Regions from separate parts of the Homo sapiens genome. Here all the other regions are linked to region 1. The links are contacts of gene promoters, found by promoter capture Hi-C in blood cells and fetal thymus (Javierre and others, 2016). All regions are on one chromosome and are shown on one strand. Each heading gives the region's core, a stretch centred on a gene start or on the middle of the fragment in contact. The rest is flanking DNA. Distances are from core to core; before and after follow the strand shown. Region 1 holds the start of ARL5B (ARF like GTPase 5B). Region 2 overlaps ARMC3 (armadillo repeat containing 3). Region 3 has its middle 6.2 kb from the start of PIP4K2A. Region 4 overlaps PIP4K2A (phosphatidylinositol-5-phosphate 4-kinase type 2 alpha). Region 5 overlaps PIP4K2A (phosphatidylinositol-5-phosphate 4-kinase type 2 alpha). Region 6 overlaps LOC105376449 (a long non-coding RNA gene). Region 7 overlaps SUV39H2 (SUV39H2 histone lysine methyltransferase).

Evidence for each region. Contacts are between HindIII fragments. The CHiCAGO score rates a contact against its expected background, and 5 or more counts as called.
Region 2: a fragment that was not itself captured here is called in contact with the fragment with the promoter of ARL5B in region 1 in 1 of 17 cell types (neutrophils); the score reaches 6.7 in neutrophils.
Region 3: a contact is called between a fragment that was not itself captured here and the fragment with the promoter of ARL5B in region 1, in 1 of 17 cell types (total B cells). The highest score is 7.8, in total B cells.
Region 4: a contact is called between a fragment that was not itself captured here and the fragment with the promoter of ARL5B in region 1, in 2 of 17 cell types (activated CD4 T cells and total B cells). The highest score is 8.6, in activated CD4 T cells.
Region 5: a fragment that was not itself captured here is called in contact with the fragment with the promoter of ARL5B in region 1 in 2 of 17 cell types (naive CD8 T cells and neutrophils); the score reaches 8.6 in naive CD8 T cells.
Region 6: a fragment that was not itself captured here is called in contact with the fragment with the promoter of ARL5B in region 1 in 2 of 17 cell types (activated CD4 T cells and naive CD8 T cells); the score reaches 6.5 in activated CD4 T cells.
Region 7: a fragment that was not itself captured here is called in contact with the fragment with the promoter of ARL5B in region 1 in 1 of 17 cell types (erythroblasts); the score reaches 5.7 in erythroblasts.

The regions. Positions count from the first base shown.
Region 1 is chr10:18,657,675-18,661,256 of GRCh38, forward strand. ARL5B (ARF like GTPase 5B) reads left to right here and starts at 1,757. Exons shown (of 6, transcript NM_178815.5): 1 at 1,757-2,009. The coding sequence starts at 1,964. It also overlaps a transcript of NSUN6 not described here. RefSeq lists enhancers at 586-705, 1,406-1,535 and a silencer at 1,846-1,925. The HindIII fragment of the contact is 6,724 bases long and covers 800-3,582 here.
Region 2 is chr10:22,969,261-22,972,842 of GRCh38, forward strand. The region is part of intron 8 of ARMC3 (armadillo repeat containing 3); the gene reads left to right. Among named protein-coding and RNA genes, the nearest start is that of ARMC3, 43 kb to the left of the region's middle. The HindIII fragment of the contact is 2,764 bases long and covers 247-3,010 here.
Region 3 is chr10:22,719,035-22,722,616 of GRCh38, forward strand. No RefSeq gene overlaps it. Among named protein-coding and RNA genes, the nearest start is that of PIP4K2A, 6.2 kb to the left of the region's middle. The HindIII fragment of the contact is 830 bases long and covers 1,391-2,220 here.
Region 4 is chr10:22,652,044-22,655,625 of GRCh38, forward strand. All of the region lies in intron 1 of PIP4K2A (phosphatidylinositol-5-phosphate 4-kinase type 2 alpha), which reads right to left. Among named protein-coding and RNA genes, the nearest start is that of PIP4K2A, 61 kb to the right of the region's middle. RefSeq lists an enhancer at 3,371-3,440. The HindIII fragment of the contact is 9,843 bases long and covers 1-3,582 here.
Region 5 is chr10:22,569,126-22,572,707 of GRCh38, forward strand. The region is part of intron 5 of PIP4K2A (phosphatidylinositol-5-phosphate 4-kinase type 2 alpha); the gene reads right to left. Among named protein-coding and RNA genes, the nearest start is that of LINC03027, 130 kb to the left of the region's middle. The HindIII fragment of the contact is 1,931 bases long and covers 613-2,543 here.
Region 6 is chr10:22,439,338-22,442,919 of GRCh38, forward strand. The region is part of intron 1 of LOC105376449 (a long non-coding RNA gene); the gene reads left to right. Among named protein-coding and RNA genes, the nearest start is that of LINC03027, 3.2 kb to the left of the region's middle. The HindIII fragment of the contact is 597 bases long and covers 1,445-2,041 here.
Region 7 is chr10:14,879,151-14,882,732 of GRCh38, forward strand. It overlaps SUV39H2 (SUV39H2 histone lysine methyltransferase), which reads left to right. Exons shown (of 6, transcript NM_001193424.2): 2 at 2,350-2,495. Among named protein-coding and RNA genes, the nearest start is that of SUV39H2, 2.1 kb to the left of the region's middle. RefSeq lists a silencer at 1-189. The HindIII fragment of the contact is 507 bases long and covers 1,275-1,781 here.

The sequences.
Region 1 (3,582 bases), core at 507-3,006:
GTGATCTCTGCTCCCTGCAACCTCTGCCTCCCAGGTTCAAGCAATTCTCCTGCCTCAGCCTCCTGAGTAGCTAGGATTACAGGCGCGTGCCACCACACCCGGCTAATTTTTGTATTTTTAGTAGAGACAGGGTTTCACCATGTTGGCCAGGATGGTCTCCATCTCTTGACTTCGTGATCCACCCGCCTCAGCCTCCCAAAGTGCTGGGATTACAAGCATGAGCCCCAGCGCCCAGCCAAATGTCTGCATCTTCATACAAAAATGCTTTGTTCTTTTCAGAAATGGTTTCTTAGAAATCCGAAAGCCAGAAAAAAAAAAAAAAAGCAGAATGTGGTTTACATCCATGTCTAACAATTGAAGAAGCTGTTACGGAATCTAAAGTTTGTTTTGTGATAATGAAGCTAGGACTAAAAATGTCCTTTTAAGCCATTACTTACACAAACACAAAATTATTCACATTTATGGTCCAACTGATAGTCATGAAAGTTAAGTTTGCATAGGGTCAGTACATTCTTTTTCCTCTACATAGGAGGTTGAAACTTGCCTTTAATGTTGTAACGTTGGAGCATATTATCCTGCATCTAAGTCTTAAAGGGTCTTTAAACCATAGCACTGGGAGGACGTAAGTCATACATTCTCCTTGTACAGGTTAACTCAAGAGTTTGGCATGTTAAAAGGCCACGTTGCCAAGGTTAAAATCCAACCATCTGACTGAAGTCAGAGTCTAAAAAAATTTTAAGCTTGCTCCTCCGTCAACTGGTTTCAAGGACATTCAGTTTCGTTTCATGCCAGGCTGTGAAGCTTTTCTTTTCAATGCTAGAACCTAACCATGGAAAGTGGAATTGAAAACAATTACACAGCGAATTGGCTTATGCGTGGACTTCGATCTGGGATCCACGAACATACCTAATGCTTGGCAAAATGGAGAGGGGTGCTATGTGTTATTATTATGTGTTATTATTAATCACATAACTGAACTCTGTGGCTCCAGGCCTTCCATGGCTCGTCTCCCAATCAATTCTTTTCAGAACTAAGAATCACGACAGGGGCCGGGCGCGGTGGCTGAGCCTGCAATCCCACCACTTTGGGAAGTCGAGGCAGGAAGATCGCTTGAGCCCAGGAAATTGAGTCCCCCTGGGCAACACAGCCCGACCTCGTCTGCAATCGATCAATCAATCAATGAGTACATAAATGCATAAGCCAATGAATGAATACGTGAATGAATAGATTAATAAATGAATGAAGAAGAATCACGGCAGAACTCCTAACCCCTAGCACGCCTGCCTAGGGGAACAGGAATAAGTCAGGAAAGAAACACTCTTCACTTCTGTGAGTTTTCTAAGAGCAGCAAACGGCGGCTGCTCACTTAGAGAACCTATGGTCTTTCCTGGTTTTAGAGGTCAGGGAAGCAGCTGCTAGCAGCAGAGACTCAAATCAAAGGGGAGTCCCACAAACGTTTTGAAGGCTGACATCAGAAGGAGCACGCACCAAGGGAAATTTCCCACCCCCCCGCGATACCGCAAATTCCCAGCCGCTGGCCGTTTGGGACTCTCCTACCGGAAGTGAAACCGAAGAAAACGCCACGTCGAAGGCGTGGGTTGCCGTAAGTGCGCCGTCGTCACGCGCCTAGCTTCCGGCGATGGGTGGTCCTGGGATCCGGAGGGGAGGCGGGGTGGAGGCGGGGCTTGGGGCTGTGGAGAGGCTGTGGTAGGTAGGTGGGTACAGACCGAGGGGACTACGGGTCGGCGTTGGGCTCAGTGGGCTCGAAACAAAGGGCTGTCCGGTGGGGATTCGTCGCGGCGCCTTCTGAGTGGTCGGGTCGAGGCTTCTCGGCCTAGCAGTGCCCTCGCTGCGCGATCTCAGGCGGGTTCTCCTCGGCTCCGCGCAGCCCGCGCCGCGGTGGGGGACCCGGCGCAGCGGCACCTGCTGCCGAGGGACCCCGCGGCCCGCCCCGGTGCTCGTGATGGGGCTGATCTTCGCCAAACTGTGGAGCCTCTTCTGTAACCAAGGTGAGAAGAATGGAGCTGCGCGGCGGCTCGAATCCGAGGCAGAGGGTCCCGCCGCCGATGGGGACACCGGAGACAGGGGACAGAGCGTTCGGAGACGCGGAGGAGGAAGGGACTTAGGCCAGGGGGCGGGCAGAAACTCAGTGTTTTAGACCTGGAGGACGTACAGGAGAGACCTGACGTGTGGGAGAAATAGGGAGGCAGAAGAGAAGGTATTTGGCGTCCCAGAATCCAAACTGAGAATGTTTGGATATTGGCGAAGTAAAGCGGGATACAGCTAATGATGCCAGGAGGCGTATGGAGGGCCTTTCTCGTCTTTATTGAAGCGTGCTTGTGTCTATGTGTATCCCCAGGATAAGTGTCCGCCCAGAAACCTAGAACTTTTTTTTTTTTGAGTAATGTAGGTGCTTTGTTTTCCCGCCCTGCAGTTTGAGCCGTAAGCCAGTGCACTTTCACTCTGATTTCGCCTCCTTTCCTCTAGGACTTGGGAATGAGTTGTCCTATTCAGATGCACGAGTTTTCCAGCATCTTCATTGTAAACTTTTTTTTTTAAAGCATTTAGTTCAGAAACTAAATGCTTTTCGGTTTTGTGTAAGACGTTACGTGTCCGTAATTAGTCTGTAACAGGTAATGAGACACCTGGAAGTGGCAGGTCCAAAGGGCCGAGAAGTTGCAAAACCTGTTCTGAATCAGAATGAGATGTGATGTCTTCTGAAGAGAGAAAACACCCAGACCAAAAAAGGGGCCGACGATAAGTTAAAGTTTGAGGCGTCCTTTGAACAGAATGGTTTCTTAGTAATTGAAACCAGTTTTGAAAATCAACTCGTTTCATTTTACATTTAAGAGCCGGGCATCGTTAATAAGCCAGTTTTATTTCCTTTTATGTTGGTACCAATTTGTTACTGCTAATGTAGGTATCTAATCTTTTTCTGGATTTAAGAAGTTGTGGAGGTAATGGAATGGCTTTAGTTGACTTGTTCTGTAGATTGATAAGAACACTAAAGCAGTCTTTTTCAAGGTTATAAATATAGATACAGGCACACACATGTGTATATATATGTATATGCCTGTATCCAGTAACCACAGATAATATTACTTATCAAATGATTTCAAAGTGAGCAGAGCTTCACACTTTGTGGGTATTATCCATACATTTAAAATATTATTTTTATTTATTTATTTTTTGAGGCAGAGTCTTTCTCTGTCGCCCAGGCTTCAGTGCAGTGGCGCAATCTCAGCTCACTGCAACCTCTGCATCCTGGGTTCAAGCGATTCTTGTTCCTCAGCCTCCCGAGTAACTGGTATTTACAGGCACCCGCCACCACGCCCGGCCTATTTTTGTATCTTTAGTAGAGACAGGGTTTCGCCATGTTGGGCAGGCTGGTCTCGACCTTCTGACTTCAGGTGATCTACCCACCTCGGCCTCCCAAAGTGCTGGAATTACAGGTGTGAGCCACCGCGCCCAGCGGTAAAACAGCATTTTAAGACATGCTTAAAGGTATAAAGATTAATACAAAAATCACCAGTTTTCTCTTTCCCCTGAGCTGGAGAATCGAAACGTTACCGAAGTAGTTGG
Region 2 (3,582 bases), core at 379-2,878, 4.3 Mb after region 1:
ATGAGAGATTAATTACAGCACAAGCACAGATGAAATTATAGTTTTAATTTATGTATATTTGGAGTCTTTTATCTAATAAAAGATGTGATCTTATTTTTCCCCTTCTGCACCACTTTTAGAAATGATGACAGCATTGACTATTTTAAGTGATTTATATTCTAAACATATATACTCACATCTGTATATTGATATGTATACTATGGGAAACACTCCATTTTCAGCACACACTGGATTTCTTCAGGACAAAGCTTTAATGCAGTAAGCAAGATTTCACCATCCAGTATGTAGTGTGCATAGAGGGGCCTCATGAGTTACATTATAAATGCCTATTTGAGAGACTGGTTGTGAAATCAAGGTTTCTTCATATTGGCAAAAGTTGGTTTACCCAGTATTCTATCAAATGGAACTTAGACATTATTCTAGCTGGTCAGTTCTCTCTTCCTTCTATCCTAGTTCTTCTTAGCTAAGTGAGACCCGAAGAGAAGTAAAATGGGGAGACACGGACAATGCCAAACCTGAAATGTTTGCGTATCTCAGCATCTCTTTGGAGAGTATTTATATGTATCAAATGTGGCTGGGTCATTCTAAGACTGTTCTCACTCATTTTGAGGTGGTGAGTTTGATGATGCCTACCCATCATGTGCCACAGTACTGGAAAGTATGCTGCAGAGTTCCTGGTACTAGAGTTCTAGTACTAGTTCCACTACTGGCATTGTAACGACCTACTTAAGTGATTTTGAGTGAACTATAACTTCTCCAGAACAATGTATATATTCGTTTACTCATGATTTCTTACTGAGTTCTCACCCAGAACAGGAAAGTAAACAGGCACTTACAATGCAGTGTTCAAAGTGATTAATGATGGAAACACAGGATCACCCAGGAAGGCTCCCAGCACAGACCTGGATCAGAAAAATATTTCTGAAATCAGTGATTAACAAGCTAGGACCTAGAGTAAATAAGATAAATTGTCTGGTCAAAGAAGGTTCAGATGGGATGGAGGAGGAGAAGTGGTTCTGAGAAGGAACAGGGTGTATAAAAGCCAGAGGAGGGATAACATGGTAAGTTCCAGAACCGAAAGTTTTCAGAATGGCCAATGACCAGAAAGCCACAGAACACTGAGCGCTCAGGCTATGGACGTGGTGAGGAGCCCAGTGCTCATGGACATTATAAGCCCAGTTAAGGATTTTGGACTTTATTTTAATGGCAACAAAGAGCCATTGAAGTTACTCAGAAGGGAGGGAACATCATGGATTTTCACTTGTTAAAGAAAGAGAACTCGTGTTGCAAAGTGGAGAAGAGATTGGAAATGTTTAGGACCAGACACAGAAGACCAAAAGGGGGTTGCTGTAGTAATCTAGGTGAGATGTGAAGGTGCCCTGAAACAGAGATGCGGTGTTCAGGACTGGCTCAAGGCACTTTGCAAGGAGAACCACCAGCACATGTGTGAGTATTTTTGAATGACTATGTTGGTTGAAAGAGGAAGAAGGCGATACCAAGGATGAGGCCAGGTTTCTGGCTTAGACAGCTAGAAGTAAAATGGTGCCACTCACAGAACTGAAGAACTCAAGAAGGGGAGCGGTTTTGCTTGAAGAAAAGGAATCAATCCTATTCTTGCTTTTTAAATTGTGGTGAAATACAAATACTATGAAATTTACCGTCTTCATCATTTTTAAGTGTACATTTCAGTGGCATTAAATGTATTCACATTTTTGTGGTGCTGTCCATCCACAGAAATCTTTTCATTTAGCAAAACTAAAAGTATACCAATTAAACAATCATTCCCACTCCTTCCTCATACAAACTCCTGGCAACCACTATTCTTTGTCTCTATGAATTTGATGACTCTAGATCCCTCATATATATGGAATCATACAGCATTTGTCCTTTTGCAAATGCATAGCACTTGGCACGATGTCCTTAAGTTTCATTCATGTTGTAGCATGTGTCACAATTTCCTCCCTTCTTAGGGCCAAAGAATATCCATTGCCTGTATAGACCACATTTTGTTTATCCTTTCAACCATGGATGGACAGTTGGTTACATCTGCCTTTTGGTTAATGTGAATAATGTTGCTAAGAATGTGGGTATACAGATATCTCTTTGAGTCCCTGATTTCAATTATTTTGGATATATACCTAGAAGTGGAGTTACTGAATCATATGGTAATTATATTTTTAGTTTTTTTTTTTTTTTTTTTGAGACAGTCTCGCTCCATCACCCAGGCTGGAGTGCAGTGGTGTGATCTCAGCTCACTGCAACCTCCACCTCCTGGCTTCCAGCGATTCTCCTGCCTCAGCCTCCTGAGTAGCTGGGACTACAGGCACGCACCACCACACCCAGCTAATTTTTGTATTTGTAGTAGAGACATGATTTCACCATGTTAGCCAAGCTGGTCTTGAACTCCTGACCTCAGGCAATCTTCCCAACTCAGCCTCTCAAAGTGCTGGGATTACAGGTGTGAGCCACCATGCCCGTCCTCTATTTTTAATTTTTTTGAGAAACTGCCATATTGTTTTCTGTAGCAGCTGTACCATTTTACATTCCCATAACCAATGCACAAGAGTTCCAATTTCTCCACATCCTGGCCCACACTTGCTATTTTCTGTTTGTTGATAGTAGCCATCCTAATGGGCGTGAGGTGCTATCTCATTGTACTTTTTATTTGCATGCCCTAATGATTAGCAACTTCAAGCATCTTTATCGTGTACTTACTGGCCACTTGCATATCTTCTTTGGAGACATCTATTCAAGTCCTTCTCCCATTTTTTGATTGGGTTGTTTTCTTGATGCTAAGTTACAGAAGTTCTTTATATATTCTGGATATTAACCCCTTATCAGATATTATTTGAAAACAGTTTCTCCCATTCTGTGGTTTGCCTTTTTACTCTGTTGATTGTGTGCTTTGATGCAAAAAGTTTTAAATTGTGGTGCATTCCAATTTATCTATTTTGTTGGCTATGCTGTTTGCTGTTGGTGTCATATCCAATAACTCATTACCAAATATCAAAGCTTTTGCCCTATGTTTTCTTCTAGGAGTTTTGTAGCTGTAGCTCTTATATTTAGGTCTTGATCCATTTTGAGTTTATTTTTATATAGGGTATAAAATTATGGTCCCAGTTCGTTCTTTTTCATGTAGACATAAATTTTTCCTAGCATCATTTGTTGAAATTGGTTATTTGTAATAGAAAGGAATTCAAGCAGATAGTCTTTAAATCCTTTCTGGCACTTAATGTTTTCTGATTCTACTTCCTTTTGTTAGTTCTAAAATAACTACATTCCAGTTTCAAGTTGTGTCTCCTGTCTTTATGTTAGAATCTAATGACTAACTGTATTTACTTCATATATGTCATCTGTGATTGTATTATGTTCCCTTCAAACATCACTTTTTCAGACCGAAGAATTCAGATCTTGTTTAGTCTCTCTCCACGCATGTCCCCAGGCCATCCTGGGATCATTTTCTTACCTCTTCAGGACTTCCTCTTGTTTATTATACCCTCCTTGAAATGTGTTGATAAGTATTACGAAAGCTATTTTAAAAGTATGCACCATCATTTTATATTATCTATAGATAGGTTGATT
Region 3 (3,582 bases), core at 556-3,055, 4.1 Mb after region 1:
ACCTCAAAATGTGTAATCCAATTCTCAAATTGTATGCATTCGATAGACAATTGATATCTAGAGAAATGTAATAAGTAATTTCTTGGGCAATAAGAAACTTTGAAGGCAAGGACCATGGTGTACCCACTTCTAGGGCGTCTCAGTGAACCCTGAATACTCCCTTTCCCATAGCACCCGTGGTGAAATTTTGGTGAATAAAGAAAAAAGGAATATTTTATCTCTCATAACAAAGTTACATGTAAAGTTTGCGTAGCCAGAAAATGTTTTGTGCAAGGTTCCATTCAGAAATACTTTGTTAGGAAATTAGGCTAGACATAATATTTAAACTCGAGGGCTAGATACTACATGCGGACTTAGCCACCTAGCAATTTGATCGCTGTTTTCCTTTGGGGTTTGCATGCTAATGAGACAAAGTGTATGTCCTGCTTGTTCTTGGTTCAGCCCACCTGGTTCAAGCTGCTTACCTTGTCAAGCTGCCAAACCATCAACATTCGCCAAAGGTCTGGAAGAGAGGCATAGATCTTCCTTCTCTAGGAGGAAGATCAAGGGAGTGTGACTTCAAGAAGAGCATGTGGTTGTGTCAGTCAAGAAGAATGCCATGCCCTCCTCAACAGCCACATCCTTTTGCATTTGGCCTGGTGGGATGTTACACATCCAGATGGCAAAGCCATCACAAATGGAAGAAAGGCTCCAGCAGCCAAGTTCACTAAGAAGAAAGAAGGACATGTCAAGAAGATTTAAAACGTTCCCAATACTGACTTGGTTTTATTTATTTATTTATTTATTTATTTATTTATTTATTTATTTCTGAGATAGGGTCTCACTCTGTGCCCCAGGCTGGAGTGCAGTGGCATAATCATGGCTCATGGCAACCTCAACCTCCTGGGCTCAAGTGATCCTCTTGCCTCCCACCTCCCTAATAGCTGGGACTACAGGTGCACACCACCATGCCCAGCTAATTTTTGTATTTTTTTGTAGAGACAAGGTCTCACTGTGTTGCCCAGGCTGGTCTGGAACTCTTGGCCTCAAGTGATCCCCGTCCTTCGCCTCCCGAAGTGATGGGATTATAGGCGTGAACCACTGTGCCCAGCCCCCAATACTGACTTGTTTATGCTTCTTGTTGTTGTGGTTTTGTTTTTGCTTACATTTACTATAATCAACTTTATTTAGTATCTTTATTTAGTATAAATAACTTTATTTAGTATAAAACTACATGGTGTAAATATTATGTTGCCTAAGGTATACAAGACCAGAAGTAGAGGTCGAATAGGGTAGATGCTCTGATTTTTTATATTACCCTTTTTAATAAAAAAATACTATCAATCGAATAATTCCAATTCTTCCTTGAGAAAAGGGAAGTGGTAGCTTTTTTGACTTAGTGCTATTTGGAAGCTTTGTGCTTTTCCTTGCTTTATGAAAAGATCAGAGCAAGATGTGAGACAATTCCATTCATCCTTCTACAATGTCACCTTGAGCTTTGCCATGCAAAATTATTATGTTGGAAGACCATTCTTAAAGTGCATAAGCTGTCAAATCTAGCCAAAAGGCAATAAGTAAGCTACAAATGCAATAAATGGGCTCTAAAAATTCAACTGTGACAAGTGAGTTACTTTTGGGGGGATAAGCTATTGACATGATGCAGCACAGCTTGCTTTCTGGGAGTTCCAGGGGTCTGGCTAAACTTCCTGGACTGGCTGTGGTTTGGTGCCAGCCAGTTGGGGTTTTCCACTCCAATTTAAATATCGATGGTGATTCTTCTGGCTTCTGTAGCTGGCTGGGACTTCCTGGACAGTGGCAGCCATTCCAGGAATCTACCAGTTAGTTGACTCCTGTCTGGTTAGCCTGACTTGGGGAGATTGGACTGGGAGAAGATGGAGTAAAAAGCAGGTAATGCGCAGACTAACCATTCCCCAGACCACCCCACCTTCTCCACTCCCCAAGCAGCAACATGAGAACTTGAGCTAGCCTCCCCCGCTGGAAGACAGGAAGCTGTGTGAAGGACATTATATCTTGATCATATATATCTTTATATATATATGAAAGTTTTCTTTATTATAGAAATGGAAATTTCAACATTGGGAGATCACATGGCAGGATATAATGCATCCAATAAACATGATATTTTCACAGAAAATGTAATGACATAAAATAATCATGATATTAATATAAGTGAAAAAATAGGATACATATCATATATATGCTATGGTTTTAATAGCACAAAGCTTTTTTTAAAAAGCACAAAGCTTCCAAATAGCACTAACACCTATAATCTCTGCACTTTAGGGGGCCATGGTGGAAGGCTCTCTTGAGGCCAGGAGTTCAAGACCAGCCTGGGCAACACAGCAAGGCCCTATCTTTACAAAATAAAAATTAAAAATTTTTAAAAAGTAAAAAGTGTATTATAAAATGTGTGTGCATGTAAAACACTGAAAGAAAACAGAGCATACTTTTGACAGTGCTATATCAGGGGTGCAGTTAGGATTATGGATGATTTTTAAAATATATTTCTGCATTTTCCAAATGTTATAAGATGCATACGTGTTACTTTTATAATTTTTTTAATGCAACTATCTTTCCTAGTTAAATAAGTAACACAGTAATGTCATTTAACATACTAACCCAATTCCAATAAGAGACCAGCATTTTCACTTGCTCCTTGCTATTTATAATAGTCGTTGTATGATTTAGGCAATGGCGAACTAAGCCTGTGGTGAACATTTTCCTATATGTAGGAAAAAGGGAACCTCCTGTGTTCGCAAAGAGTCCTTATGCAAGTTTACAAATTGTTTACCCATTGGGCATCATCTTCCCAATGCATACAGCCTATGCGTTTTTCGGGGACCTAGAAAAAATTTGAGATGTGAAAACAAAAATTTTGATTACAAAAGAAAACTGCAAAAGTGATATCAATAATAACATTTGACTAAATGTTGCCATTTATTAAATTTAAATTTAGTATTTAAAAAGTCATTACGTATATAAAGAATTTGTGAGTTAGCTTTTCTTATGTTACAAGTATGCATAATGATTGATAAAAAAGATAGTAAATAGTCAATCAAAAATTAAATGTTTGGCTGGACGTGGTGATTCATGCCTGTAATCCCAGCACTTTAAGAGGTTGAGGTGGTAGGATTGCTTGAGCCTAGGAGTTAGAGACCAGCCTGGGCAACATAGGGAGACCCTGCCTCTATAAAAAATAAAACATTATCCAGTCATAGTGGTGTGTGCCTGTGGTCCCAGCTACTCGAGGGACTGAGGTGGGAAGATCACTTGAGCCTGGGAGATTGAGGCTGCAGTGAACTGTGATCAGTGGCACTCTAGTCTGGGTGGATTGAGATTCTGAATCTCCAAAAAAAAAAAAAAAAAAAAGGCATAGCTAAACATTTTTAGAGCAAAATTATAAAAATCTTTTCTAATTTATTTTACAGCAAAAACGTTGAATTAAATGTGGACTGTGAATGCATTTTCATATGTTTGATACGCTGAAGGGTTGGAGCCTCCAAAAATAAGGATGCCCAGCCCTTAGGAGAGTTTTTTAAATGGCTGCCGGGAGGAAAGATTCTATTCTTTGTAGATCAACAA
Region 4 (3,582 bases), core at 392-2,891, 4.0 Mb after region 1:
GCCCTGTAACTGATACAGTGCTTAATTTGTGTTGAATAACCACTAATAGTCATGAAATAACTGAAAAACTGCACACAAATTTTTTTTTTTTTGAGACAGACTCTTACTCTGTCACCCAGGCTGGAGTGCAGCGGCATGGTCTTGGCTCACTGCAACCTCTGCCTCCTAGGTTCAAGCCAAGCGATTCTCCTGCCTCAGTCTCCCGAGTAGCTGGGACTACAGGTGCGCACCACCATGCCTATTTTTTTGGTATTTTTAGTAGAGACAGGGTTTCACCATGTTGCCCAGGCTGGTATTGAACTCCTGACCTCAAGTGATCCGCCTGCCTCATCCTCCCAAAGTACAGGGATTACAAGTGTGAGCCACCATGCCAGGCCTCAATTTTTAACTATCCACTTTAGCAACTGTCTGATAATAAAACACTGAATTGTGACATTTTGAGACATCTCCCTCTGCAAAGCAATGTCTTCGTAGTAATCAACACTGTAGTTATAATAAATCTAAGACATAACTGAAGTCAAAGTACCTGTAATTATCTAGCATATTATTTCACAGGCTGAAGGTACATTTGCTTTTAAAATACGCAAATGTGTATTAAAACCAAAAATTTAAAGTCTGTCACTGTGTGGTAAATTCATCTTGCAACTCAGGTTACACAAACATCTAAGTTAAGAAATGTTATGTTCTTAATGAAAAATACACAATGAATTCCCAACTGAAAACGCTGCTCCTTGTTCTGGTTCAATGCTGCTTGAAACGTTTATGAAGGGTCCATCGCAGTGGCTCACGCCTACAAGCCCAGAGCTTTGGGAGGCTGAGGCTTGAGGATCACTCGAGCCCAGTAGTTTGAGACCAGCCTGAGTAACATAATGAGACCCCCATCTCCACAAAACCACAAAAATAAGCTGAGAGTGGTGGTACACACCTTCAGTCTGAGCTGCTCAGGAGGCTGATGTGGGAGGATGGCTCGAGCCCGTAAGTTTGAGGTTGCAGTGAGCTATGATGGTGCTGCTGCACTCCGGTCTGGGCAACAGAGTATCTCAAAAAAAAGAAAGAAGGGTTTATGAGAAAGGACCACCCCCGGGGGTATGAATCATACTGTACACTAAGTTAAGGGCCACTCTACCAAAGACAACTCTAAGAAGAAAAATAGTTTCAAAGAATAAAGAAGAAGATATGGAAAAGGTGAAAACTCCTCCCCTCTTGCCTCAGGTGGGGGGCAGTACGTGGGAGGTAAGGAAATGAAGGAAGGCAGTGCATGACAGCCAAGCCAGGCCACTTCCTTCCTTCTCCTCCACCTCTTTCTACCCAGTGTCACACTGCAGGATACCGTAAGACCCTGGGCCACTTACTCTAAAACTTCAACATCTCTTTGTCTTCCTGACAGTTTCACTGGGGAAAGTGAACTGTCAGCAACAACAGGCTCACCTTCCACTCATCTTAATCTTTCTCTTAATGATTCAATTCAGCAGATGCACACTGGGAAGGCAGGGGAGGCAGACAGAAGAAAGGAGGTAGGGCCCTGGTGCTTTGGAATTTCCAAAATTGCTCAGTCCATCCTACGCACCTAAAGTTAGTGGAGATTTGGGATCGGGCATGGTGGCTCACCCCTGTAATCCCAGCACTTCGGGAGGCTGAGGTGGGTGGATCACTTGAGGCCAGGAGTTCGAGACCAGCCTGGCCGGCATGGCGAAATCCTGTCTCTACTGTAATCCCAGCTACTCGGAGGCTGAGGCAGGAGAATCGCATGAATCCAGAAGGCGGAGGTTGCAGTGAGCCAAGATTGCGCCACTGCACTCCAGCCTGGGCAACAGAGTGAGACTCCATCTCAAAATAAATAAATAAATAAACAAAATTAGTGGAGATTTGGGAAAGGTCTGTATTCTGAAGAACTGGCAATCTGCAGATCGGTGTTAATACCAAGAGAAAACAGCTGCTGTCTCTGAAGTGCCCAAGCATTTTATAAACAGTGGTTTTTTGGTGAGTGCAGCAGTGTCTCTCCTCACTATGGGGCTTAGATTTAATAAATGGACGAAAGGAAACCCTGCAGTGAGGGGTTCTGGAATGGCAATGACTTTGCTGGCCGCAGATGCCCAAGGCCATTAATATTTCCAACTTAATTTTGAAAAACACATGTTTCCGTAAATTTTTCAGGAAAATTTAATCTCATAATTTTTAAAAATGCTATGAAAATATTCAAGGTTGAATTATTTTATTTCCTCAAGGTGAGCTGGACACTCACTCAGATTAAACTTCCCCCTAGCAGAAATATCCACTATTAAGGAAATGAAAAACACAGCTCTCACTTTCCAAGAATTTACCATGTGTGGAGAAAAAAAAGACGTGTAAAAATAGATACTCAGAGTGGGCAAATGATCCAAATCGTAAGTACAAAAAGCTAAAAATTGGAGAATCTTAGTAACAACGACATCTGTGAAAGGCGTTCTTAACATGGGCTAAGATTTCAGGATCAAAAGGGCAACAGAAGGGAAAGGGGTTAATAAGACCAAACAGTGCTAGTGAAGCTGTCGCTGAGAAACAATGTCTTCAGAGACAGGTGAGTTTTAAAGTGATTCAGGGGTAGTCAAGTGTGCATTCCCAAGAAAGGGTCTGGTCCAGCTGCTGGTCATGGTGGGGAAGCCCTGCAAGCTGGAGTTGGGAGACCAGGGTTGTATAATTCTGGGCAGTTAACACCTCTGAGCCCTCCCCTCACATATTTTAATAGGGATGATGGCATCATCCAGCTATATCTCAAGGCAGCAAATGAGATGTGTGCGACTGCTTTGAAACCTATGAAAGGTTTTACCTGTGAAAGTTCAAATTAAAGCAAATCAAAGAAGGCTACGGCAAAAGTGGGCCTGGGGCTTTACCCAAGGAAAATGCAGGGGACAGAAATGAGTGGACTGAAAAAACAGTGCACCAGGAGGGTGGCTCACACCTATAATCCCTACTTTAGAAGGCCAAGGAGGGAGGACCACCTGGGGCCAGGAGTTTGAGACCAGCCTGGGCAACAAAGTGAGACTCTGTCTCTAAAAAAGAAAATTTAAAATTTAAAAATGAAAATGGAAAAAGGAAATTGTGCCTCAAGAGGCAGGACAGAGGACATACACAAGGTAAATTGATAGAAGCCCTGGGATACCACCAGGTGGAAAAATAACAATTTGACTCAATTGAAACACTTTGCAAAATACCATCTCTAAGGCAGAGGTCTGAAGATTTTTAAGAAAAGCTGAAGCTCTTAACCCAGTGTAACAGGCACCGATCCCTGTCTATGCAGCCATGCACAAGATGAGATCTTCAGAGCTGGAGCCCTCGGCAGGAGGTGGAGGTCTGTTTGTGACTGCTGCCCTGCCTTCCAGAACCATGGTAATTTATGTTTCTTCTCTGCACAAGCCTGACGCCCCATATTTCAAATGCTGTCTCTTGATTTAGCCAGTTCACAGCTGTGCGGTCTTTTTCATTTGTCTTAAAATTACAGGTAAGTATAAAGAACAGAAACAACCACATATCTTTTTGATGTATTTCCTTCTAGGCTTTTGTGTTCTAAGTTGTTTGCAGATGGCTGAACTCATCCTGTAAACA
Region 5 (3,582 bases), core at 328-2,827, 3.9 Mb after region 1:
CCTGCAATTCACAGATGCGGAAACTTGAACGGAAGAGACTCCTCACATTGGGGAAGGGAGCCAAGACCAGGCTGGGGGGGTCTCCCCAGGGCCGATCTTCCATCCCCCTGGTGCTCAGTGCCCCCAGGACTGGAAGATCCGAGGGACGCTGCTGCTGGCCCAGGGAAAATGTTCAATGTTTCTCAGGGCGATTCAGAGCAGCCCAAAGCTGACCCATCAGATGGAGACAGATAATGTGAACCATTCATGAAGGCAAACCTGAGAACCCATTCTACGACCACAGTCCGAGCCCCTCTGCACAGCCATGCCCAGCAACTGTTACTTGCCATGGTCTACTTTCCTTCCTTTAGGGATTCCTGAATATGGACCAGAAGTACCTTCCTTTACACACTGATTTTTCACAACGAATGTTCCCAAATACTTTTTAAAAATGGGACATTTGTAATACTTGAGCACTGCCTATGATGCTGGGAACAGGAAGAAACTATTCTACTTTGAATTCTTAACCAAGTTCTTGGGGTGTGTGTGTCTGTGTGTGTGTGTGTCTGTCTGTGTCTGTGTGTGTGTTTCCTCTCCTACAATATAATCCACCCTGCTTCTGATTCTCAGGGAAGCTTCATCTGTATGCAAATGCTGATCATTAGCTTGGGAACAACAAAACACAAAACTCATCCAAGTTTAAATTAATTCACAATAAAAAATTATTAAAAAAAATAGAAAAGGAAGGCCAAGAGTTTAAGCCATGAAACAATGCCAGATGTACAGGTTCCATCACAACTGAGAGCACTGGCAAGAACAGAGTTTATCTATGCCACAAGCCAGAAAGGGAGATGAAACTGTGAAAAAAGCAAGGCAAATTAAAACTAGAATATCCAATCTCTAAGTATAATTTACTCCAAGATATGTTTACCAGATGCCTACTTGTCCGAGGCGCTATCTTAGGCATTGCAGGGGGATTAAAAAAAAAAAAGTTAAGTAGAAGAACATACTTGCCCTTGAGGCACTTACACATCAGGAGAATGAATGAGGCAACCAAGATTCATTAACTCCCATATGCCATGCCTCACGCTGGACACAATACATATGTATCTTATTTAATTCTCAAAACATCCCTGCAAATGTAGGTAAAATTATCCCTATTTTAACAGATGAAGAGACGGAGGGTCATAGAGGTTCAGCAACTTACACAAGGTTAACAAGTCATAAAAGAACAACATGTGACTTTAGAGGTCACTCTGGCTTTCTTCCCTGGGGAAGTCAGACAGAGTCCTGTGTGCTCTGAGCAGTACCGCCAAGGCTTCACGAAAAGAGCTGGTGCTGGCAAGGGCCCTGGAGGATGGCTGGGATTTCCCCAGGGGCAATTCCAGGGGCACAAAATGGCTTGCTTGGGCGAAGACTTTAAGACAGGACAGGACAAGGGTGTATTTGGGAAGTGGATCCAGTGTGTGGGGACTTCAGAGGTTAGGAGACAAGCCCAGACCATTTCCTTCACTTAGACTAGCATTTCTCTAAGCATGGTTCAGAACCCTGGGGTCCCAAGACCAAAACTATACAAAGCCAAAACTATTTTTATAATAATACTGAGAAATTATTTGCCTTTTTCAGCGTCTTGATATTTGTATAAATAATGCAAAAACAATGGTGGGAAGAACTGCTAGCAGTTTAGCATAAGTCAAACAGTGGCAACAGTGGGTATTAGTAGTGTTTGTGATTTAAAAAAAAAAAACAATGAAAAAAACCAGCACCATCTAAGAAACCCAGCGTCATTTCAGAAACCTCTGAAGCCACACATCCTGGTTTTTGTGACTTGTGAGCTGTGTACGAGTTGCTGAACTTCTGGCTAAGATGGTGTGTCATACAAGTAGGCATCTAGTAAACACATGAAAGCATAACATTAAATGTATCAAATCTAGACCCAGGAGTACACGTCTTTTCAATATTCTGTGCAGGAAATATACATAAAGCACTTCTGTTTATAAAGAAGGAATGATTTCTTAAGAACTGTTTTCGTGACGGTTTGAGTTATGAGTTGAACTGGCCATCTTTTTCATGAAACAACACTTTTACTTGAAAGAACAACTGACAGTCTATGTTTATTTAGATCTGGGCATGTGACTGATGTTTGCTACAAAATGAATGAAGCTGCTAGGCTCCCCTGTATGCTGGGGTGCTTGCTACATGTGGTCATTTCACAGAAAACAACTGACAGGGCTTGTGGCCAGTGATAAAATTTGAGATTCCAAGTAAAAAACTGATTTTTAAAAAACTTATATCCACCATCCTGGGCCTGACCGCTTCCCAATATGTAAAAGACTTTTCTGATGACATTGGTGGTAACACTGTTATGACTTTTTGATACTGTATAATGAAATGTGTCAATATTTGGAAGAGTCAAATAACTCAGTGAACCAATGTGTTCCAAATGGCAAGTGCATGCCTTGGCAAAATCACACATTCAAACAATGCATGCAAACCAATCAATGGATTTCGATGAAGAGTACAAAAAGTTCATTGATATGATTTCAGATTTCATAATGTAACTAAGCTTTGAGAAATTACCTCTTGTCAAGCTTTGGTGTAGTATCAAAGAAGAATATCTACAATTATCCAAAAAAGTTGTTAAAACATGCTTTAACAACTTTCCAAACTTCATTATTGTGTGAGTTCAGATTTTCTTCACATACTTCAGCGGCATAACACCACACAGACTGACAGCGGAATCAGACAGGACATTCCAACTATCTCACATTAAGTCAAGACATTACGGAGATTTGCAAAAATGTAAAACAATGCTACTTGTCTCATTCATGTTTTTGCTTTTGGAAAATAGTTATTTTTCATAAAAATGTTAACATGTAATGTTTTTCTCATTTTTAAAGAAACTACATATTCTAATATTTCTTATATTAATTTTTAATACTGTAAATATCCACAGACACAACTCACATCTGCAAAAGCTTTCGAGTGTCCTCTTGTAAGAGCGTGAAAGCGTTGAGACCAAAAAACTTGAGAACCAAATGTCAGAGACCAGAGTTTGGCAAACTTTTCTGCAAACAGTCAGTGGGTAAACGTTTTAGGCTTTGTGGTCCCAAATGGTCTCTGCGGTAACTACCAAACTCTGCCATTACAGTGCAAAAGCAGTAACAGACAATACAGAAACAAGGGGCATCGTGGTATTCCAATAAAAATGTATTTATAAAATTGGCCCAGCCAGCCGCGGTGGTTCATGCCTATAATCCCAGCACTTTGGAAGGCCAAGGTGGGTGGATTGCTTGAGCTCAGGAGTTCAAGATCAGCCTGGGCAACATGGTGAAATCCTGTCTCCACCAAAAAATACAAAAAATTAGCTGAGCATGGTGGTGCGTGCCTGTGGTCCCAGCTACGTGGGAGGACTGCTTGAGCCAGTGGGGCAGAGGTTGCCATGAGCCAAGATTGAGCCACTGCGCTCCAGACTGAGCAACAGAGGAAGACTCTTTCTCAAAAAAAAAAGAAAAGAAAAGAAAAAAAAGTCCCTCAAGTAGGATTTGGAATTCAGGAAAGTCATAGTTTTCCAACCCCTAACTTGAACATTCTCCCCTGAAT
Region 6 (3,582 bases), core at 493-2,992, 3.8 Mb after region 1:
ATTTTTCATGTGCCAGGCATTGTTCTAGATGCTGTAGATACAGCAGTGAACAAAACACAAAAGTCCCCTCTTTCATATTATTCCACTCCCAGGGCCCTTTCATCCTTTCACTACATCTTTCTTCTTATTTTTACATTTGCCACAACCACCTTCTTTGCTAGTTGGTTCCCTTTATTCACCAATTTTTTAAAAACTCATTTCTTCAGTCCCTCAACTCATCTGAGATATGAACATGTCAAAAATATATGATGAAATACAATTTAAAAGTCAGATCCTTTTAAAAAAAACTTTTAACCAGAATGAATCCATTTCTAAAAGTTTATTTTTTATGCCTGTAATATTTAAAAAGCCTAAAAATGATCTTGCTGGTTTTCTTCAGTTGAGTGTTGTGTAAGTGAAAATTACTTCACAAATCCTACTATTAGCTATTATAATCAAATCAGCTTTCACTCTTCCATGAGACTGTTTCCTTCACAAGACTTTGGTTGACCATAACCAATTTTATAGTAATATACAACAAAAAATAATGTGGAGAATAGCAAAATTAAACATATTTTTTTAAAAAATAGAGGTGTTCTTTCCCAGGATTTTTTTTAAGAGTAAATAATGTTAGCTTATGGGATTGTAGTGCACAGCACAGCCCCATAAGGAATATTCAAGCCTAATTTATCTCAGTTGTATTATCTCTGACTCTCTTTCACCGGTTTTCTCTAAACTTATTTCCTGTTACTCAGCCTAAAATGCTCACTGCCTCAAATGTTCCCTGAAGACTATGGCTTAATTATAATTCTTCCCCTTCCACATTTCACATTTAAATGTATCTTATTTCAGACTTGTTTAAACATTCTTCTGAACTATCCTTACTTCCCTGCCTATCCTCTTCATCCTAAACCGAGGAAGCATGCTGAGCTCCTCCCTTCTGTCCCCCAAGTTGCTCAAGCCTAGGAGTCAAAGCCAGATTACCTAAAATGCTAGTGATACTCAATGCTGGTAGACATACTAGAATCACTTAGGAGACTTTAAAAATACTGGTTTCCTGGCCTACCCCTGACCAAATAAATTAGAATCTACGGCATTGGAGTCCCAGCACTGATAATTTTATAAGGCTTCCCAGGAGATTCTAATGAACAGCCAGTTTGATAAACTGCAACAGGCAGCCCAAGTATCTGTCCTCGGCAGTAATTGTCAAACTTAAGTGTTTCAGAATCACCTGAAAGGCTTGTTAAAACACAGATTGCTAGACCCTACCCGCTGAGTTAATGATTCAGTAGATTTGGGGTAGAGCCCCCATATTAGCATTTCAAACAAGTTCACAGGTGATGCTGATGCTGCTGGTTCAGGGATCATTTTTTGAGATTCTCTGTTCCAAGACACCAACAGAAACAAAGACATGCAAGAAAAAAATGAGAGAAAAAAATTAGAAAGATTTTGATATTTCAAACAAAGCTTTGAAGTAATTATCAAGGTGCGAATTAGAAACGAGCTTCTTTACCTTTATGGTTTAGTGTGATTTTTACGTTTAAAATTGTATTTGGGAAAAGAGGACTACCATAATTCCTTTATTGTTAGGGGTAGTTTCTAGAAGTCTTAGGCCCTGTGCATTTTTTTTTCATATAAACCTCACCTTTCACCCTTCCATGAGAATGTTTCATCCAGATTTTGCCTGACCATAACGAGTCTTACAGTAGCCCACAACAAAACGTTTGTGGAGAACAGCAACATAAAACACACACACACACACACACACATAGAGAGAGCAAGAGAGAGAGTGGAAGAGAGAGATCTCACTTCCAGCAAAAGCCCATAAGGCAGAAATAGTGTTTATCTTGTTTTCTTGGTGATAGGCAAACCTTACCTTGCATGTTCAAGCCTGTGACAGAGAACTTGACACACGGAGGGCACGCAAATATCATTGCAGAAAACTTGTCCGAGTTGTGGAAATAAAGAGTACTTTGCTTTTGACTGACTTTCTCATCTGTTTTTGCAGTTTATGCTCTCTCCACCAGCTCATGAGATTACATGAAGAAAGTCAGGTGTAGGAAGCTTTCAAACTTGCCCAGAACCTTACAGCTCATTAGGTATAAAATGAGGGTTCTTGGCTCCCACACTCTATTTTTCTCTAGAACATGCTGTAATTCAAATGCCAGAACACTGGATCTGAAGGGAAGAGAGAAAAGATTTGATACTCTTTAACCCTGTAAAGTGAAATGGAAGAAAAACACACTGCAGTTTTCAAGTTCATGAAACAGAGTTACAAGAATTCAGATGCAATTTATGACACCCGAGGGAGGAAGAATATGAAAAGGAAAGAGAGAGAAGTAGAAAAAATTTCAGGGAAAACACCTGTATAGTTAGCTAATAGTCTTAGGGCCCGAAAGAGATTCTGTTGGACCTTAAGGAAGACAGGGCAGAAGACTCATCATTTTAGTTTTGGTTGTTACAAGCCACCCAAAAATTTAGTGGCTTAAACCAAGAGCATTTTATTCACTCACAATTCTTTGGGTTAGGAATACAGGCGGGGGTCAGGGAGGATGGCTCTTTTCTGCTCCACGTGGTCTTGATTAGGGGTATCTTAAGGGGCTGGAGGATCCAAGTTGGCCTAATCCACAAGTCTGGAACTTGGTCCTCCTCCATGTACCTCCCTCTCACTCCACATGGTCTTCAGTAATTCAGTAGTCTACCTCAGGCATTTTTACATGGCAGTGGTTTACCAAGGGGTAGAAGTAATCACACAGCATTACTTTCATTGTATTCTGTTGGTCAAAGCAAGTCAGAGGGCCATTCTGGATTCAAGGAGCTGGAAAACAGATTCTACTCTTGATGGGAGGATGGTACAGGCACATTACAAAAAGAATGTGGTTAGGCTGAGTGAAAGAAGCCAGACACAAAAGAGCATATATATTATGCTAGTTATATGAAATTCTAGATAAGGCAAACTAATCTATAGTGACAGAAAGCAGATCACTGGTGGCCTGAGGCTAGAGGATGGGGATTGCCAGCAAAAGGGCATGAGGGAGCTTTTTGGCATGATGGAAGTGTTTTGTACCTTGATTGTGGCAGTATACATACAAGTGTATACATTTGTCAAAATGTATGCATTTTATTGTAGCTTTTAGGTAAAGTGTACCTTTAAAAAAAGGTACAAAATAGGAGGTAGGAAGGATTCTCATGACCACCATCAGAAATGATCTATCACATATAAAAAGTTAGATCTGAAGGGACCTTAAATGATCCTGTGATCCAATGTCTTCATTATATAGATAAGGAAAGTGAGGATCAGAAAGCAGACCTTGCCAAAGGATACTAGTTGGTGATAAAAGCAGGACTGGAATCCAGACTCCTGACCACAGTCTTCCTGTCACTCCTTCCACATCCTCAACAGGATCAGGGAAAAGGATGCCCTGGTCTGTGTCCCACTGAAACACATAGAATTTCCAGGGGTCAGTACAAACAGTCAAGAACAGAGATTTCTGTGCTCTGTTCCTAGTTCTGAGAGACTATGGACACGTTCCTGTAACTATTCCATGAGTCAGTGTCTATAATAAAGGTGAATGGAACAATGTTTAGAAATAGAAAACCATG
Region 7 (3,582 bases), core at 278-2,777, 3.8 Mb before region 1:
CACTTCGGAAGTGGAGCGTGGCCTCTCCGCCCGCTCGGCCCGGCCCCCTCCGCGTCTCCCGTGGCGGCCTCGGGCTTCGAGGCCGCTCCCCGGCAGTCCCCGGTTGGAGGTCCGGGGGGCACGGCTGCGACTGGCTCCTTTGTGGTGGTTCGAGCGCGGCGTGCGGCATGCGCCCGGGCCTTTGAAGTGGGAGGCGGGAAGCGACGCCCGCCGGCGTGAACATGACCTTAATATCAGAGGGGGAGAGTAAATCGGGGCGCCTGTGTGCTAAGAAAGGGGATAAGCGAGGAATCCCCCCCAAGGCGGACACGCTAGGAGGTTGAGTGCCTCGTTGGAGAATCGCCCAGAAAGTGGGTATTTGAGGTTGCAGCCTCTGGCTTACGGTAACTCTTTCACCCACCGGGAGCTTGGTGTTATTTCTGTGGACGCTGGGGAATTGGGCACCGGGGAACTGGGCACCGAGCGCGCGTGGGTGTGGGCGTCGGGGGGTGTTGGTGTCGCGCACGCTTTGAGAGCCTGGAACTTTTCCGTGCGTTCCGGAATGTAAAGGTGTTTTCAAGCTCGTCTCCTCTCCGCTGGGATTATGACCTCATTATCCCTGAATTTTTCTCCTTGGAGAATGTCAGGGGTTACTGTGAACCAGCGGAAGGTGTTTGTGGTGGTCATGAACTATTTAATTTTGTCAGTGAAATCTTTTTCTGCATTACTGGAGACTGTCGAGAGATTGTCTTTCTTTTTTTAACCACGTGTTTGCAGTTTTTCATGTTCACTTTTTTTTTTTTTTTAATTTTCAAAGAGCATTTCCTTTGCGGGTTGTGTTTTGAATCCTCAACTAGATAAAAATGTTTAGGAAAAGCACACAAACACACCTTGAGTAGATAAGAGGAACCTCCTTTATACGTGATTCCCTTAATGAGGTCAGCTTAACACAAAACGTTCTCTAGTTTTTGTAGATGGAAGGGACTTAGGGGGTCATTTCTTTCCCATCACTGTCCTACCCCCAAACGACCACTACAAAGCCAATCAGCCTCTTCCCCCACGTTTTCTGGAGGAAAATACCTTTGTCTTTACTGCTTTAGGATGGAATCGTTTGCAGCCAGTGAGATGGTAGAAATTATGCTTAAGGGTTTCTGACAATGAAGTTTCTGTGTGAGGTGGGGAGGATGAGGAAAGGGGCCGGAAAAGTTATTGCCACTAACAAGTGTTCTCCCTTCCCTGAAATTACCTCAAAACGCAAAAGGTGATCGCAACTACCTTGGAGAGCTACCAAGTAAAGCTTGAGTTTACTGATAGATTTTGTTTGGTAACACCAGTTTTCTCCATTTTTTTCCAGTGAATCTGACAGCCAAAAAGATTGAGACCTCACTAAAGTCACATAGCTCGGTGACCGAGCGATGGGTAGTGCAGAGGACTTTTGATTTTGTCAAGTGCTTACCATGACACTAGCCCTAACAACAAGTTTGTTCCATTTTCCTAAACGTGTTAATTTACACTTTAAATTCAGTGTGGTAACATGCTGCTTACAGAAATTTGAGGGTGAAATCTTCTGGAACGCAATTAGTTTCTGGTTTCTGGAGGGTTGATGATGAGTATGTCTAATTTTCTTTGAGTTTAGTACATGGCTTATGTAAATTGAACACCGTTTTAAAAGTTTGGCTTTAAAAACAGTACAGTCCATAAGTATTACAAAATATCGATATACTCCATTTTTTTAATAACTGGAGTTTATTCACCTTGGTGATAATATATTGCAGTATGGGTAGAATAATAAGTGGAATTAAAGCTTCATGCAACATATCAAAGAGAAAACTAACATATAATGAGTTTGTAACCGTAGAAATATATTTTAATTAGATTTCAGTTCGTTTTGTCCAGTTAAAAAAAATGAAAGTTACGTGTTAACAAATTATAAGATTGTTTTAAAGTATATTTTAGATATGTTTTTAAGAATAAGTGTCCTAGAGATTTACATTTTATTAAAATAGTGATTGTAGTCTATGTAGAATACAATGAAAGTGAAAAACATTATCTCTGTTGACCTGCATCTGTATATAATCTTAAAAAAGCTTACAGACATGAAACATTTTCAAGTGACTTAATGGAAATTAACTGATGTCAGTTAAACGTAGTGGAATAGAAATCCATGAGAAAATCCAAGAACACCAATTTAACAAAATAGTTCCTTAATGTTTAACTTTTTCTTGAAGACATGTAACTGGTTTCTTGTCATAGGAATTTTTAGTCTAAAATTGCCAGTTGAAAGATGGGGAATAGAGGTTTTAAGTTTCTCTTTTTTGTTTTAATTGAATAGCTATTTCATTAGTAAAGAATTCTATTTTCTTATTGTAGCTTGGTGTGTGCCTTGCCTAGTTTCACTTGATACTCTTCAGGAATTATGTAGAAAAGAAAAGCTCACATGTAAATCGATTGGAATCACCAAAAGGAATCTAAACAATTATGAGGTGGAATACTTGTGTGACTACAAGGTAGTAAAGGTAAGGCAAATATCTAGCCCCTTACAAGAGACCTAATCAGACTTCAGTATTTCGTATTTCTGTAACATAAAAAGAACATTAAAAGAAAAGCTCTTCTTAATGTTTAAAATTCTAAGGCATGATAAATTTATATGTCCTATCATCTGTGTTGCCAAATAGCATTGAGAGGATTTTGAAGCATAAAGTGTTCTTGCATTAGAATATTTTCAGGTGCTCATATCCCTCTACATCCAACTCTTGATTATCTCCGTGTGGGTTACCAGAGCAAATGTTTGATCTCCAATTGTCTTTCGTTTTGTTCGTGGATCGTATTTCCCCACTATCACCTGAAATGAACCTACCGTTTCAAACCAATTTTAGTGTTACTGACTCTCAAGAACATCACCATTTGCATTTCCTGCCATCTTGTCACACTCCAGATTTAGTCAGGTTCTAGGTTATAATAGAATGGCCTGGATTGCAAAGTCATTTCCAGCTTTTGTTTAGTACCTTAGGACTTAAGCAAACTCGTTTCACTTCTCTAAGCCTTCCTTTATTGCTCTTAAAAAACGGCAGAGTTGTTCTCAAAAGATTTTTTGATCTAAACTGTATATTTTTGAGTAATTCATCTGTCTATAGCCTACCTCACTTTCCAAGAACTGTTTTGGTCATTAATCTACCAAATCTATCAGATAAGTGAATCGGGAATCTTGTTTAAGTCTTTATTTTCCTCCTTCATCTTCTATATTGAATCAGTCACTAAATCCCATTCTTTCAAGTTCTTTAGTATCACTGCCTTCCCTGCTCAGTGGGATCTTATGCCCATGCATCTCACCTGCACTCTCAGCATCCTTCGGCCCCTGAAACAGCCCCAGTCATCTGCCATCTCAGTTTACAAGCTATGGACTGACCAGTCCAGCTGAGAATATTATACAATCATGCATATCAGCCCCATTATAACTTATTTCTGTTCTCACACTGCTCAGTTCTACCTGACAAGCTTTTTATCTTGCTTGCTTTTCCCATTCTTGTCAGCAGGTTTTCCAACTTGGATTACTTTTCTGGGTTTCTTACTCTATCCATTTCTCATTTTCTGCTGAAGACCTCC